Regions from separate parts of the Homo sapiens genome. Here all the other regions are linked to region 1. Evidence: promoter capture Hi-C in 16 types of primary human blood cells and fetal thymus (Javierre and others, 2016). All regions are on one chromosome and are shown on one strand. Each heading gives the region's core, a stretch centred on a gene start or on the middle of the fragment in contact. The rest is flanking DNA. Distances are from core to core; before and after follow the strand shown. Region 1 holds the start of MRPL39 (mitochondrial ribosomal protein L39). Region 2 overlaps LINC00158 (long intergenic non-protein coding RNA 158). Region 3 overlaps GABPA (GA binding protein transcription factor subunit alpha).

The links. Contacts are between HindIII fragments. The CHiCAGO score rates a contact against its expected background, and 5 or more counts as called.
Region 2: a contact is called between a fragment that was not itself captured here and the fragment with the promoter of MRPL39 in region 1, in 1 of 17 cell types (activated CD4 T cells). The highest score is 5.2, in activated CD4 T cells.
Region 3: a fragment that was not itself captured here is called in contact with the fragment with the promoter of MRPL39 in region 1 in 8 of 17 cell types (naive CD8 T cells, non-activated CD4 T cells, naive CD4 T cells and 5 more); the score reaches 11.4 in naive CD8 T cells.

Annotation. Positions count from the first base shown.
Region 1 is chr21:25,605,912-25,609,099 of GRCh38, reverse strand. MRPL39 (mitochondrial ribosomal protein L39) reads left to right here and starts at 1,619. Exons shown (of 10, transcript NM_017446.4): 1 at 1,619-1,697; 2 at 2,445-2,651. The coding sequence starts at 1,625. RefSeq lists a silencer at 515-574 and an enhancer at 1,555-1,674. The HindIII fragment of the contact is 17,691 bases long and covers 1-3,188 here.
Region 2 is chr21:25,393,728-25,396,915 of GRCh38, reverse strand. All of the region lies in intron 4 of LINC00158 (long intergenic non-protein coding RNA 158), which reads left to right. Among named protein-coding and RNA genes, the nearest start is that of LINC00158, 36 kb to the left of the region's middle. The HindIII fragment of the contact is 3,774 bases long and covers 1-3,188 here.
Region 3 is chr21:25,738,214-25,741,401 of GRCh38, reverse strand. All of the region lies in intron 1 of GABPA (GA binding protein transcription factor subunit alpha), which reads right to left. Among named protein-coding and RNA genes, the nearest start is that of GABPA, 4.8 kb to the right of the region's middle. The HindIII fragment of the contact is 2,157 bases long and covers 472-2,628 here.

The DNA of each region.
Region 1 (3,188 bases), core at 370-2,869:
AGATTTACCTCGGGTATGTCTCTCAAGCTCTTAAAACCTGAATTTCTTTTCCTGGAATATGAAGATTATTATGCCAATTGCTCAGGTAGGTTGTGAAAATTAATAAACCAAGCCCTATGATTGGCACATAGTATTTTTTGGCCATTATCACTAGTGACAACCTTTCAACTAGGTTAATTTCTCATACCGGTGAACTCCAATTACCTGCCTCCAATGGGTTTGTGATCAAACTTGCTTAAGTTTATGTTCAGAGGCTTTGCTTAAATGTGGCTCTAAGATGTTCTAAGGGCACTAGAGTGTTTCTAGGTAAGGTTAAATGGGTACAGGCTCTAAAAGGCCGATGAAACAGACAGCTTTCATGGGAACTGTATGCAAATTTGAGGAAGCAAAAGATACACCCGCCCTCCAACACTATATGTATATATGTACATTTCGTGGTTTGAATTAGGATCTTAAATGAAATGTAGCCTGGTAAAATGTAGACTGGATGTAAATCCAAGCTCCGTCACTTACATTTCCCATTTTAAAAAGTGAAGATACTTACACTTTCCTGGCGCAGTGGTTGTGAGTGTAACATTTGGGCCAAGGAGACGGTCGATCTATCGTGGCGCAGGGTCATATTTGTACCTTAGGCGGCACTTCCACCTGGTGGCGGCGCATTCCAATTGCAAGGCAAAGGACAGAGTGGGGGAAAGGCTGAATTCGACACCCTTAAGTAAAGCCACAGAATTAAACTACTGTAAATGAAAATATTTCCATCCTGTACCTACAGAGTGCTTACTTCAAATAACACTCACGTCCTGGTAGGACAGAAAAATTAGACAATGAGCTGAAGTTTGCCTGCAAGGGCATTCATTCATTCATTCATTCAAGAAACATCTGTTGAGCGCTGACTGCGCTGTGCTCTGTTCTGGGCGCTTGGGATACATCAGTGAACTAGAGACAAAAATTCTGCCCCGGGATGCCTTCTCCTATACATCCTATACTATATAAACTAAACTAGAAAATTTGTAAAGAGCTCTTAGGAATTACAACGTCCTCTCCAAAGTCAAGGGGACGTGTTCCGAGGCCTCTATTACCACAGCTAAGGGGAGAACCGGGGTGCAGACCCACTCCAGCCGAACTAAGAACCTACCCGGCACAATTGAAAGTTAAGCCACGCGCTAGAGGATGTCATCGCTGACAAAATAGAAGACGCCTTCCCCATTCCCCCCCACCCCCGCCCCCGCCAAGAAAACCATATATTCTTTTAGGGAAGCAAGCGCTTCACCTGGGTGGCCGGGATCGAACCCGCGGAGGGCTGAAGGCGGAGGGCAACGACGCCTGTGGAACTCTGTTTCCCTGCAGAGCCTACGTGGTGGGCGGCAGGCCGACCGCCCTGGGGGCCCTGCACCTCTGGGTAGGTGACCGCGCCCAGGTATCGAGCACAGGTAACGCGCCCCGGCTCCGAGTCTCGGGGTCTCAGCCACTGAATCCCCAGCGAGGCCTGACGCCCCCCGGTGGAGGCGAGCAGTCTGAGTGCTGGGTCCGGAACAGACCTGTCCTGCGGAACTCCGAGTGCGCGTTCGGTTTCCGGGGGAGGAGGGCGGAGAAGGACTTGCGCGCGACGGTTCTCACCGCTGCTATGGAGGCGCTGGCCATGGGTTCCCGGGCGCTGCGGCTCTGGCTGGTCGCACCCGGTGGCGGGATCAAATGGAGTGAGTTTCAGAGGCCGTAGGGACAGGGAGCGAGGCCTAGATAGTGGTGTCTGTCTAGATTGGGTCTGAGGCGGGGCCGGGGAGGTCCCGCGGGGCAGAGGAAGGAGGAGGGTTTCTTAGTCCCTCCGCGGCGGTCGCTCTTGCACAGCTTGGGAGGACTAATTTATGGGAACGAGGGTCTGGCGGAGGGCAGGGGCAAGGGCAGGGGTCGGGGCCAGGGGTCGGAGCCAGGCCGCGGGAGGAGCTTGGGCCCGCCTCTGGGAAGCAGCGCACGTTCCGTGCACATCTGTCCATGTCTTCCCAAGGAATACTCGTACTTGCCTTGGCAGGTTCCCTGATTTGGCCTTTGGGATATAAACTCAGCATTTCTCATTCTGGATATTGATAGTTTCGGTGTGGGACCTTTGGTTTCCTGAAATTTTCTTGTTTTTCTTCAGACCCTGTCAAACCGACCACTTTGTTCACCTTCCCAATGACTCTAGTCCAGTTTTGACTCCGTTTCCTGGTTACTTTTTGCCCCTTATTGTAAAGCACTGATTGGAAACACGACACAGGAAATTGGTGGGAAATAGCGATCTGATGTGAAAGAGCCAAATTTAAAAGTAGAGGCACGTATCTGGGCCAGCTCTGTTTCTTCCGCTGGTGTTTGTTAATATTACAAATTGGTTTAATTTTACCTCTGAGCGCACTTTTGGCAGTACGTTAATCATTTTTTCAGTCTTCATATTTATTGTAACTTCTCCACAGGATTTATAGCAACATCGTCAGCTTCTCAGCTGTCACCGACAGAATTGACAGAAATGCGGAATGATCTCTTTAATAAAGAGAAAGCCAGGCAGTTATCATTAACTCCCCGAACTGAGAAGATAGAAGTTAAGCATGTTGGGAAAACTGACCCCGGTACTGTCTTCGTGATGAATAAAAACATTTCAACTCCCTACAGTTGTGCCATGCGTAAGTAGCAGAATCAGGTTACAGTTTTGACCCTTTTACTTAAGCTGTGTGGAAGCACTGGTGCAGGAGACAGGATGCTGTAATTACTTCTGGTCATCTGTGGCCATGGCAATCCCTTTATACCAAAATCCTTTCTTGAGACCTGCATGGTGACTGCTCCCACCACATCACAGACCTAGCTAAAAAGAGCAAGCAAATCCCAGCTACTTGGGAGGCTGAAGCAGGAGGATAGCTTGAGGCCAGAAGTTCAAGACCAGCCTGGGCACCATAGCCACCCTGTCTCTCAAAAAATAAAAATAGAAATAAATTAGCCAGATGTGGTGGGCGCAGAAGTCCCTGGACTTCCCAGAGGTTCTTTATCTGGCACCTTATTGTCTATTCACTGTCCCTGTAGTTCTGGAGGGTACTCTGAGTATTGCAAGGTTGGCACTGTAGTGCACAGATTGTCCTGCCTGGCGCTTGTTTGAATCTGGCTTTGTTTATGGTACTAGATAATTTTCTGGCAGAAGGTGACCAGACCTGAGTGCATTGTTACTA
Region 2 (3,188 bases), core at 250-2,749, 210 kb after region 1:
ATCCATTTAATCTCTATCTCTTCTGTGTTATAATGTAGAATGTATTCATATTCAGATTATCTCTTTAAGTGGCCTACTTGATTTAAAGGAGAAAAATATAACCTAGGCATTGCGTTGACTGAAAAGATATGGCATTTTAAATGGCATCAAGATTGCAATTTCTACAACATTTATGATTTTCCTTTTGATTTTACAGCAGCAATACTGTAAAAGGTTTAATTTATTTCTCAGATTAGCTCTTTGGAACTGAGAGATGAGATGAGGCCTGGAAAACTTCCCCCAGTACAGTCAAGTTCCTGTTGACTAATTCTGTGACCACCAGTGACAGTCTTTGAGTCCGTGAGGCAGAGTTGCGGCAGCACAGGCTTTGCTTGGAGTTGGATGGTTCGCACCCTGCTTGGCATGGTTTCTAAGAGACATCCTCTGAGTGGATGAGGGGAGAATCCAGCAGGCCTCTAGTCACACTGGTACGAATAATTTTGATGGTGGGAGATGGTGGTGTGAGTGGAGGGTCTGTGGGTGTGATGAACACCTGAATGACTCATGGGGAGAGGGATGTTAACAGGACAGATGCCACTTGCTGTAATTTTCATATGATGTGTTTGGAAAGCCCCCTGCATGGAGGAAAGATAGATCGAGGTCCCTTTCAAAAGTGCTCCAGATGAAGAGGCATTTCCACTTTCAGAAACCCTGAGAATCCCCGAAAGAACCTCTAACTAGTCATTGTACTGGAGGCCGCTCCTCTATTCCGAATACTGCTGTTCACTGTCCCTCTCAGCAAACTGTACTGCTCCTATTGCAACCTGAGTTTAGGAAGACTTAAAGCTATGTCAACTGTTTATTTCTCTCCTTGGAGAAGTACCTGTGTCAGCTACCCAAGGTTAACGTCTCCACCAGGTTCATTATTTTATATTTTAAATATATTTTAAGATCAAAAGTGTTTGAAGGACTTGCTTTTTTCCCCATGATAAAGGTAATAACTCCTCTCTATAAGAAATTTGGAAAAGTAGGCTGGGCGCGGTGGCTTATGCCTGTAACCCCAGCACTTTGGGAGGCTGAGGAGGGCGGTTCACTTGAGGTGAGGAGTTTGAGACCAGCCTGGCCAACATGGTGAAACTCTGTCTCTACTAAAAATACAAAAATTAGCTGGGCGTGGTGGCAGTTGCCTGTAATCCCAGCTACTCTGGAGACTGAGGCAGGAGAATCGCTTGAATCCGGGAGGTGGAGGCTGCAGTGAGCCAAAATTGCACCACTGCACTCCAGCCTGGGAGACAGAGTAAGACTCCATTAAAAAAAAAAGAAAGAAAGAAATTTGGAAATAAAATTATTTATAATTCCAGTCAATCAAAATAAACCATTGTTAATTTTTAATTTTTTAGATCCAAACTTTCTCATTTCACACTCTTTGCCCCATAAACACTTGTCTCACCCCTTTTGGTGTTGGGTTTTTATTGTATAATTATAACTTCCTTAAGAGTTATACATGCTTACTCTTGATAACAGGTAAATGAAGACAAGTACATAGAAGCAGAAAAAATACAACCAATGTTAACATTTTGGTGTATTTCCCTAATAATGGTTAAAGAAAAAAAACTCAATGACACTTTAAAGTACTACCATACTTCAAATAAACAGGCAGTTTATCCAGGACCATTATAATATGGGGACCATTGCAGCGGGATTTTTCCGTGGGGAGAAAGATTGGGCTTAATTCCAAATACAGTATTGGCAAGAGGGAATTTATAGCCAAGGTGCAAGGCGGGAGTCATGCATGAAAAATTGCTAAGAAATAACACCAGGAGTAAGCAGGATTCTGGCCAAACTGAACTAATTAGATTCTTGCTGAGGATAGACCAGGATGATCAGATATCATCTGGGGGATGGTGGAGGGTTAGGAACCTGATCAGATATCAAGGATGGAGGGTTCTTGCTAAAGTTAGCAGGGTTCTTCTAAAACCGTGTTTTATAAGAAAGTGCACAGATAGGCCTCGGAGAACATTCACAAGCTGGACCAAAGTTTGGTCAAGCACAGAATCTTTGTCACAATCATAATTCATAAAAAGTTTCCTTTTTAATCAAAAACTTTTAATAAATGTCACTTATGGAAGCTGAATGAGATAGAACATTTTGAGGATCCATCCAAACTATTTTTCTTTTTTCTTTTTAACATCGACACACAATAACTGTACATGTTTGTGGGGTACATATTGATATTTTGATACATATAATATATGGTGCTTAGATCAGGGTAATTAGCATATCTGTCATCAAGCATTTATCATTGCTTCATATTGGGAACATTCAATATCCTTCTTTTAGTTATTTGAAACTCTACTGTTAATTATTATTCAATATAATCATCCTACAGTAGTGTAGAGCACTAGAACCTATTCCTCCTATCTAGCTTTTTAATTTTGTATCCTTTAACTTTTTAAAAACAATGTCCCCTACTTTGGGAGGCCGAGGCAGGTGGATCACCTGAGATCAGGAGTTCGAGACCAGCCTAGCCAACAAATAATAATAAAAAAAAAATTAGCCAGGCATGGTGGCGTGAGCTGTAATCACTGCTACTTGGGAGGCTGAGGCAGGAGAACTGCTTGAACCCAGGAGGTGGAGGTTGCAGTGAGCCAAGATTGCGCCATTGCACTCTAGCCTGGGTAACAGAGCAAGACTCGGTCTCAAAAAAAAAAACAAAAGGCCCCAAAGTGTTTCCAGTGTATTATTTTCTGAGGAAACAAAGCACATGGATCATCTTGGAGGAACCTGCATCCCAGAGTGGCTTCTGCATAATCCTGCTTCCCCTCCCTTCCCTTCATAGGCTGTGACCTCAAACCCCACCTCCCTGTTTCTTCCAGAGAGCCCTACCTGTCACACTCTAATGAACACCTGAAAAACCTTTGTTTCATGTTGATTTTTCCTCCAAATTCCTGCAAATATAGATTTCCCCCAAATGTACAAAGATTTACAGAAAGAAATGGTAATTTGTGTTTTTTTATTTATATATTTCCATTTTATTTTTGTTTTCATTACACTCTCTGCCTTATCTGTAGTTCATTAGCAATATTCCAAAACACAAAAAATAATAATTTTTCACATATGAGTATTGAACTACTAAGGGCAAGGCACATACCAGATGCATTTTCTGCTGTTGCTAAGCAATAAGACTGAATGAGTGAGTTGTATTTATG
Region 3 (3,188 bases), core at 301-2,800, 130 kb before region 1:
AGGACTTTGGGAGGCCAAGGCAGGCAGATTGCTTGAGCCCAGGAGTTTGAAATCAGCCTGGGTAACTTGGCGAAATCCTGTCTCTACTAAAAATACAAAAATGAGCAGGGCGTGGTGGCACGCGCCTGTAGTCCCAGCTATTAATACTTCGGAGGCTGAGGTGGGAGGATCACCTGAGCCCAGGAGGCTGAGGCTGCAGTGAGCCATGATCGCACCACTGCACTCCAGTATGGGCGACAAGAGACCCTGTTTGAAAAATAAAATAAAGAAAATCCACAAATGACATTTATAAACTAATTTTTTAAAAAACTGGTGTTTATTAACCTGACATGACAACTTCATTAATCTACTGGATTTACTGAGATGTTTTCGGGACCAATTGCAATCAACAAGTTACCTCAAAATTAAGTTAAGGGTCTGTTAACTATATTAAAGCAACTCAGTCTCAATAACAGATTCAAACCTGAAGCTTAACATGGAGATGAACTATGTTTATTCAGCTGAAAGTTGTACCTTAGTAGCAGAATTTACTGCAAAGTATCACACTGATACAATGATATGCAAATTAATCAGCTAGGATTTGGTACAAATGATGTCTCTTATAAATGCAAGAATATTATAAAACAGCAAAACAAAGTAACAAATTACAGATATGCACATTATTTCCCTGATTACACACAGTAGAAAATTTTTAATGATTTTTTCAGAGGTGGTTTTATTTTAAACAGACCACTACTTCAGTTTTTAATTATCCCATGTAAAATTTTTATCTATTGCTTAAAACCACTGATACAAAAACATTAGAATTTTAAAAATGCTAAAGAATACACAAATAGCTAATATACATAGATATTTCTTTGTGGACATGTCTGAGGTGTTAATACTGTTAAGTACCAGGTTCTGTTATTAACTACCTCGCAGTAGGTCAATGAATGTCTTTGAATTCCATACGCACTTTCAGTCCACAGCACCTTCTGAGTAGTTATTCTAAGCGTACTACCACATCTAAAAAGAGGCGTACCTTTAAAAGGAACGCTCCACTAAATTTGGTATTTCGACATTTACAAAAGAGTTGTGCTCCCACTTACAAGATTTCACTAAATGAAGAATTTAAATGTTCATTTGTATTAACCATTACTCGCCGAGCATCAGGCACTGCATTCAAATGCTTTGCATAGAGCAATCTTATTTTGAGCTCCATCTCATACGAACGCTATTCAGAGGTGAGGCTAAACCACTTGTGGCTCCATGTCACAGTTTTGGTGTATCAACCTAAGTAGGTATCATTCCAGATGGGGATGAACCATGGTTGTCCAAATATAGGCTCTGTATTGCGTATATCAGTACAACAGCCACCACCACCCCTTACCTGGAGTACTGCAACAATCTCCTAAAGGGGGTCCCTGTGTCCACTCTTGTCCCCTCACAGTCTATTCTCAGTCAATACAACGGCCAGAGTGTGATCGTTTTTAAAACGCAGCTAGGGCCAGATACGGTGCCTCATGCCTGTAATCCTAATACTCTGGGAGATCGAGGAGAGAGGACTGTTTGAACCCATGAGTTCAAGACCAGCCTGGGCAACATAAAAAGAACCTGTCTCCTATAAAAACATTTTTAAAATTAGCCAGGCATGGTGGTGTGCAACTGTTGTCCTAGCTACTTGGGAGGCTGAAGTGAGAAGATCGCTTGAGACCAGGAGTCGAGGCTGCAGTCAATGATGATCGTGCCACTGCACTCCCTCCTGGGCAACAGCGAGACCCTATCTCTTGAAACAAATAAATAAAAGTAGAAGGTCCTTAAAAGTAGAAGAGGAAATTGGAAGAGAGAGCCAGAGTGATTCAATGTGAAGATCTGCCGGTTAGCTGTGACTGGCTTTGAAGATGGAGGAAAGGAGCTTTGAGCCAAGGAATGCAGGTAGCTTCTGAAAGCTAGACAAGGAACGGATTCTCCCTCGAAGGCTCTAGAAAAACAGCACTGGCAACACCTCATTTTAGCCCAGAGACCTACTTCATATTTCTGACTCCAAAACTGTAAGATAATAAACAGGTGGTGTTTTTAAGCCACTAAATTTGCATAATTTGTTACACTAGCATTAAGAAACTGAGTCTCCCTTCCCACTTTAGAAAGGGCTATAACTCTCCTAAGTTCTCAATATCTCCAACTATGGGGTAGCTGGTTTTCTGACAAATAGCTGGCACCCAAATCTAGACTGCCTGATACAAAATGATCTAATTTTTCCCACGTAATTAAGGTTGCTCTCAGGCTTGCCCTTTAAGGACGAACAATAAAAGGGTAAGGTTCTCCACTGGGATGGACGCATGCATATGGAGCAGACTGCGCAGGCTCCGTTCACAAGCACATCTAGCCGACTGCGCAGATTCTGTTCACGTGCATATCTAGCAGAATGCGCAGGCTCCAGCAGGCTTTTTTGGGGATGATGAAGAAATGAAGACCCTCTGTTTTTGGTTTTTTTTTTTCTTGCTGATGCTGGTCTAATAAGCCTTCCTTTTCTCCAATAAAGCCTATTCCTTAACTGGTGCTATGTGTAAAATTGTGGAATTCATCCTGAGGGCTGAAGAAAACAGGTGGAAACCGAGTAGGGATCTACCTTGAAGGACAACATAAGCTTCCAGGGCAAGAATATGTGTTCACAAATATATACAAAGTACTCTGAAGAGTACTACCTTCAGCAGGCACTCCACCAATATGTGTTGAATAAATGAATAAGAACTATTTCACACCATATAAAATGAACTACACATGCCTTAAAGGATTAAACATACAAGGCAAAACTATGAAACAGAAGAAAATGGTGGGGACATTTTTGTGGTCTCAGGATAGAAAAAGATTTCTTAAATAAAATTCCAAGAACATAACCGTAAGGAGAAAAATCTGATTACATAAAAATCAAGATTTATGTTCAACAGACAGGCTACAGAATGGAAAGATGTTTCCAATACCCAAAAGTGACGATGGAATAGACAATGGCCTGGAATTTGATAACCAAAAAAAGGGACAAATTAGAAAAGTAGTTAAAGCATAGGAAAAGGATATTCACATAACGGGAAACCAAAATAACTCAGGATACAAAGAAATGCCCAAATTCAAATCATTCAAAAGTTCAATTTAAAACAAGAAACTACCACTTTATACCATGTGTGTGTTGGGGGCAGGGGGCGGCGGCGGCG